Regions from separate parts of the Homo sapiens genome. Here region 2 is linked to region 1. Evidence: promoter capture Hi-C in human tissues and cell types (Jung and others, 2019). All regions are on one chromosome and are shown on one strand. The core of a region is centred on a gene start or on the middle of the fragment in contact, and the rest is flanking DNA. Distances in the headings are between cores, read along the strand shown. Region 1 holds the start of BUB1 (BUB1 mitotic checkpoint serine/threonine kinase). Region 2 has its middle 74 kb from the start of MIR4771-2.

Evidence for each region. Contacts are between HindIII fragments. The study calls those that stand out against the background at their distance.
Region 2: a fragment that was not itself captured here is called in contact with the fragment with the promoter of BUB1 in region 1 in 1 of the 25 tissues and cell types used here (aorta).

What each region holds. Positions count from the first base shown.
Region 1 is chr2:110,676,357-110,679,506 of GRCh38, reverse strand. BUB1 (BUB1 mitotic checkpoint serine/threonine kinase) reads left to right here and starts at 1,444. Exons shown (of 25, transcript NM_004336.5): 1 at 1,444-1,537. The coding sequence starts at 1,512. It overlaps LOC105373554 (a long non-coding RNA gene), which reads right to left and starts at 1,295. Exons shown (of 2, transcript XR_923189.4): 1 at 910-1,295. RefSeq lists enhancers at 425-514, 775-834, 347-1,267, 1,268-2,188 and a silencer at 1,345-1,744. The HindIII fragment of the contact is 12,584 bases long and covers 1-3,150 here.
Region 2 is chr2:111,695,968-111,699,117 of GRCh38, reverse strand. No RefSeq gene overlaps it. Among named protein-coding and RNA genes, the nearest start is that of MIR4771-2, 74 kb to the left of the region's middle. The HindIII fragment of the contact is 6,648 bases long and covers 1-3,150 here.

The sequences.
Region 1 (3,150 bases), core at 195-2,694:
AGTTTTGGTCAGGGGTTAACATTATTATTATTATTTTAACCACCAAGGCCGGGTGGTGGCGCCAAGGTCGTCTAGCTATTTATCTTACTTCTGTTTCTTTCTAACTTTTTGCTGTCTCACTTTTCTCCTGTCTTATAAACTAGGGAAAAGGGGAGGTGGTGGAGAAGAAGCTGGGAGGGACAACAGGAGAAGTGGTGGTCTCATTCCATAGTATAAGCACATTTTTTCCAATAAGTCAACCTTAGCTTACTGTAACTTTTTCACTTTATAAACTTAGTATTTTAACTTTTCAAAAAACAAACAAACAAAAAACAAAAGAAACATCAGCCTATTACATATTTCCTCTTTAGACATCTGGACTCCTCTACAAAGAGGTGTCTATTTTTGATTTTATGGTGTCTAAGAACTTGGTCTCCCAGAGTGCCCTGTCCCCCAAAAGATGTTCAAAGCTGGCATTCTATAATCTACCCAAACTCTTCTGCTTTTGTGTTAATTACAGCTGGCTGCAGAGAGAGTCCAGTCCCGTGAGCCCCATCTTCCGCTTGAAGCTGTTTGACAGGTCCCCTGTGTGGCTCAGGGCCCAGCCTTTCAGATCAGTTCAATAAAACCCAGGGGTCTACTCCAAGGACACTAACCCATCACTTTCCAGTGCCTCGTATAATTACGCAGCCGACCCTAGAACGCCCTCCCCGCCTCCACGTCCCCTCTACATGAAGGCGCTAAGCCCAAAACTCCTCAGGTTTTTCCACAGGCCGTCGTCACTCCCTCTTTGCCACGGCGTTTGAGATTCTGGGCTAAGACTATTGGTTTCAGCATCTGGGATGTTTTCTCACAGCCGAGGACGCTGAATAGAAAACTGCCAGAAAGCGGGAGGGGTCCCCGGCAGCAGGTCCCGTTTTTTCTCCCCACCTGCCTCCCGGGTGCTGCGGCTTCCGCCACGACAGTCTCGACCCTGCACACGGATTTTTTTCCTCCGTTCCATGAACCAAACATAATGATTCTGGTTTACATATTTAAGCGAAGGGGAGAAGAAACGCGACTCTCAGGACCCAAGGGCTGAGGCAGGGTTTTTCTGTCTCAAAGACCTCCAGTTAAGACATTTTTCTCCTGCAAAGCCTTTCCTACAATGATGGCTTAATCGTGTAATTATGTAAACCAGTCACAACCTGGATAGCTAAAACAAAAAAACCAATTCCCTACGCCCGAGCCAAGCCTGCTCCCCCTCGCCGTGCCGCATCCCAAACACCCCGCGCTCGCTCAGCCAACGGCCAGGTTTCGGTTCAACCGAAAACCACGGGAAGTGGGAGGAGCTACTGGCTCAAGGGAGGGAGGTGGGACTTGACCTCCGAGCAACGGCCCCGGTGATTGGCCAACCTTCTGCCGCCGCCACCAATGGGCAGGCGCCCTGAAACGTTCGGCGAGCCGACTGCGGCTGCGCGGGGTATTCGAATCGGCGGCGGCTTCTAGTTTGCGGTTCAGGTTTGGCCGCTGCCGGCCAGCGTCCTCTGGCCATGGACACCCCGGAAAATGTCCTTCAGTAAGTGTCCGTCTGGTGGGGTGGGGAAGCCCAGGGGGCTGGGGCGCCTGGGGTTCGGGCCCGGCCCGCCCCAGACCTGCCTTCTTTTGCCCCCTTCGCCCCCTTCCTGGGTTTGGAATGTGTCCCACCCAGCAAGGCCGTGGGCTGCTTGAGAGCCGGGGAGGGCTCCGGCACCTTGGGTTCCGCTGAGGCCCGGCGCTTGTCCGCCCATCTGCGCCGCGGTGGCCGTTTGGAGCAATCTGGATAATTCGTTAGGCCCTCAGAGCTCTCGTTTATTCTTTGTAAGGAATCCCCTCCTGACAGTTCAACCTAACAAAAATCCTGAACCTTGTGTTTAGATTTTGTGATACGTTTTCAAAGTCACGTATTTAACAATTCGACTACAGTAGGGAACGAATTTAAAGTTGCTCTCCTATCCATAATCTCACTGCTATTTTTTAAAAGTCTTTGAATACAGGGTACTTTAAGAAAAAAAAATTGAAAAAAAATAGCTTTGCTCATTATTGAGTGATGTGTGCCAACCTGCTAACATCACTCACTTTTTACTTAAAGTTCCCACGCCTTTGTTTTATGACTTAGATGATTTACCCAGACTGTTACTTAAAGGCATTTAAAACAATTAAGTCATAGGTTCAGGAAGTAAAACTGGTCCGTTTTATCAGTTCTTTGCGATCAGAAGACCGAGATTGTTAAATGCAGTCAAAACAAAAATCCATTTGCTCTAAGACTTTTTCTGTAACCTTCAACCTAGCCAGCAAATTATTTTCTTTCAGAAGTCCCCCGCCCCTTTTTTAAAGGTAAAGCAGATATTCCTGGTCCTGTTTTGACTTACTAAAGATTAATGTGCTTTAATGAACTGGATGTTTTACTATTACAGTGCATTTAGGTCATTTTACTAGAGAAATGTGGTTGGTGTTAGAATATGAAATGTTTACCTTGGGCGAGCCTACTAGACATATTTTGGAAGAAAGGTTCTGAAATAGGGATTTGTCCCTCTGCTATAAGACATGAGAGACATTCAAACTTCAGAATTATTATTTTTTTTAGTTTTAAAAATAAGCAATGCGTTTATATGACTAAAAGAAGATTTAGAACAGTATTTACCGAGAACTCCTGTACCTGACTACTGTCCCACTCTGTCACATGTAACCGTTTTTCTAGTTTCTTTTTGGAAATATAAATATTTACATTATTATAATATATTAAATGTCTGCACGTTTGTATACATTTTTTGCCTTTACCACACATAAAATATAACAGTATATATATACGCTGCTCTTTTGCCTAACAATATCCCTGGAGATCTCTACCAATACATAAAGTTCTTTCTTATTCTTTTTTTACAGCTGTGTAATACTTCATGTACCCTAATTGATCTAAGCAGTCAACACAGGTTGTTGACAATCTGTTTCAAATAGTGGCACGGTGAAAAATCTTGTACATAACATTTTGCGGATACACATGTGTATGTGTCTTCTAGATCTGCAGAAGCGGTTTGTTGGATCAAAAGCAAATCAGTCCAGTTTTGGTAGATAATTCCCTTGGCAGGAATTGAGCACATGCCCACCTACAAGCAAGATGCGACAGAGAGCCTGTTTCTTATTGCTGCACCT
Region 2 (3,150 bases), core at 435-2,934, 1.0 Mb before region 1:
TCAAGACTCTGAACTGTGTACCCAGGATGGTCTGATGAGTCAGCTATAATAACCACAGGCAGGAAGTGGAGCCAACCAAACCCTGCTGACTCATTCCCATGGACGGGGAGAAGGGGAGGAAGCTCCTATAGAAGGTGCCCAGCCCTGGGAAGGTCAGTTAACGCCTGACTGACAGGGTCAGAGGAGGAGGAGGAGCGAGCCGGGCAAGAAAGGGGGCGAGGCTGCTGGGAACAGGACAGGGCAGCACCCCTGCAAAGGTCATCATGTGGACCATTTTCCCAGGTGCCAACCCCAAACTGTCCTACCCTTTTCACTAAAGGGTGTTGGCTGCCGAGCTCTTGTTTGGTAGTTCCTTGAGTGTCCCTTAAAGTCACGTCTACATGCTTTTTAAATTTTAATTTTACAGTACTATTTGAAAGGCAACTTGAATGTGGTCTAGTCCCATAACTAGAGGGTCGGCTGAAATGAATCTATGTGGCTTCAAAAATAAATTGCAAATGTATCTTTCAGTTGTCAACCCTAATAGTTATCAATAACTTGCTTTGGGAAAGATCTTTCATCTCTATGTATTTACTATGATTAGACTCCATTAATACTATTAATATTAATAATAATATTAATCTCTGTGGCCTTTGCAAACAGTGGTGTTTATTTATTTGTAGCTGTTGGTTCAGATAGAACTGAAAAGGAGGGAAAGTGGTTTGTCTTAAGAAGGTGATGAGATGGAAAAGAACACCTTCTGGTTCTGAAGTGACCGCTTTCCACGTGCCATTTTCCCGGCCCTGCTGCCCTGTGACCTCTCCCAGGATCACTTAAGGAAAGAAAGAGGAGCTCAGACTTCCCTTCAGGGGTCTGACACCCTGGGGGCTTGGCTGCCACAGGAGTTTCTTGGCATTCAGGCTGGGGACATCCTAATTCTTGCACCTGAGAGGCCCTGTCTCTCTTCCTCCAACATTACTGACAGGCATCACGGGGTTAATTGGTGTGTGTCTAAGTTCCTTCCAAGGGAAAAGTTGTGCACATCCTTGTTAAGAGGAAAAGGAAAAAAAAAAGCTTGTTTTTTTCAGGAGGTCTACATGTTTATTGTTGAAAATGTGTATATTGACTCTCTGCTATGTATCTTCTTGTTTTTTTAAATTTTTACTTTGAAATAATTATAGACTCATATGAAGTTGTAAACATAGTACAGAGAGGTCCTGGGTACCCTCCACCCAGGTTCCCCCATTGGTTATATCTTATATAATTATAGTACAGTACCCAAACCAGGAACCTGGCATTGGTATATTGTGTGTGTATAGTTTTATGACATTTTATTACATGTGGAGAGCACTGAAACCACTACCACAATCAGGACACAGAACTGATTCGTCGCCACAAAGGGACACTGCGCTTCCCCTCCGCAGTCACACCCCCTCCGCCCCCATCGTCCCCAACCCCCGTAACCACTAATCTGTTCTCCGTGTCTATATTTTAGAAATGTTATATAAATGGAATCACACAATATATGACCTTTTGAGGCTGGATTTTATTTAATTAATTTATTTATTTGAGACAGAGTCTGGCTCTGTTGCCCAGGCTGGAGTGCAGTGGCGTGATCTTGACTCACTGCAACCTCTGCCTCCTGGGTTAAAGCAACTCTCGTGCCTCAGTCTCTCAAGTAGCTGGGATTACAGGCATGTGCCACCACTCTTGGCTAATTTTTATATAGTATTTTCAGTAGAGATGGGGTTTCATCATGTTGGCCAGGCTGGTCTCAAACTCCTGGCCTCAAGTGATCTGCCGGCCTTGGCCTCCCAAAGTGCTTGAATTACAGGTGTGAGCCACCATGCCCAGCTGGAGACTGGGTTTTTTGTTTTTTTGTTTTTTTTCACTCAGCAGGATTCCCTAGAGACCCATCCAAGTTGTGGCATATATCAATAGTCCATTCTTTTTTGTTGCTGAGTAGTACGCCATGGTGGTCATTAATTTTATGTGCCAACTTGGCTAGGTCATGGTACCCAGATATTTGGTCATGCGTTATTCTGGATGTTTCTGTGAAAGTATTTTTTTTTTTTTTTTTGAGACAGAGTCTCGCTCTGTTGCCCAGGCTGGAGTGCAGTGGCGCAATCTCGGCTCATTGCAAGCTCTGCCTCCGGGGTTCACACCATTCTCCTGCCTCAGCTTCCTGAGGTAGCTGGGACTACACGCGCCCGCCACTGCGCCAGGCTAATTTTTTGTATTTTTAGTAGAGACGGGGTTTCACCGTGTTAGGATGGTCTTGATCTCCTGACCTTGTGATCCGCCCACCTCGGCCTCCCAAAGTGCTGGAATTACAGGCGTCAGCCACCGTGCCCAGCCCACGCCTGCCTAATTTTTTGTATTTTTTAATAGAGACGGGGTTTCACCACTTTAGTCAGGATGGTCTTAATCTCCTGACCTCGTGATCCACCCACATCGGCCTCCCAAAGTGCTGGGATTACAGGCGTGAGCCACTGCGCCCGGTCTCTGTGAAAGTATTTTTAAGATGAGATTAACATTTACATCGGTAGACTTTGAGTAAAGCAGACTATTCTCTATAATGTGGGTGGGCCTCATCCAATCATTTGAAGGCCTTAATAGAACAAAGACTGATGTTACCCAAGGAAGAGGGAATTCTGCCAGCTGACTGCTTTGAGACTTGAGCTGCAACCTCAACTCATTCCAGCCTGGCAGCCTACCTTGCAGATTTTGGGCTTGCCAGCCTCCATAATCATGTGAGGCAATTCTTAAAATAAATCTCTCTCTCTCTTTACACACACACACACACGCTCGCACATGCATGCAGATGCACACCTATTGGTTCTGTTTCTCTAGAGAACCCTGACTAATACATCCATGGCATGGATATACTACAGTTTGCTCAACTATTCACTCATTGAAGGATATTTTGGTTGTTTCCAGTTTTTGGCTATTATTATAAATAAAGTAACAATGAATATTTGTATAAAGGTTTTTGTGCAGACATAAGTTTTTATTTCTCTGGGATAAATACCCAGAATTGCAATTACTGTGTTATAAGGTAAGGGTATGTTTAGCTTTTTAAGAAACTGCCAAACTATTCCCCAGAGTGGCTGTAGATTTTTATGTTCCTACTGGCAATGTGGGAGAGACCCAGTTTCTCCACATCTTTAT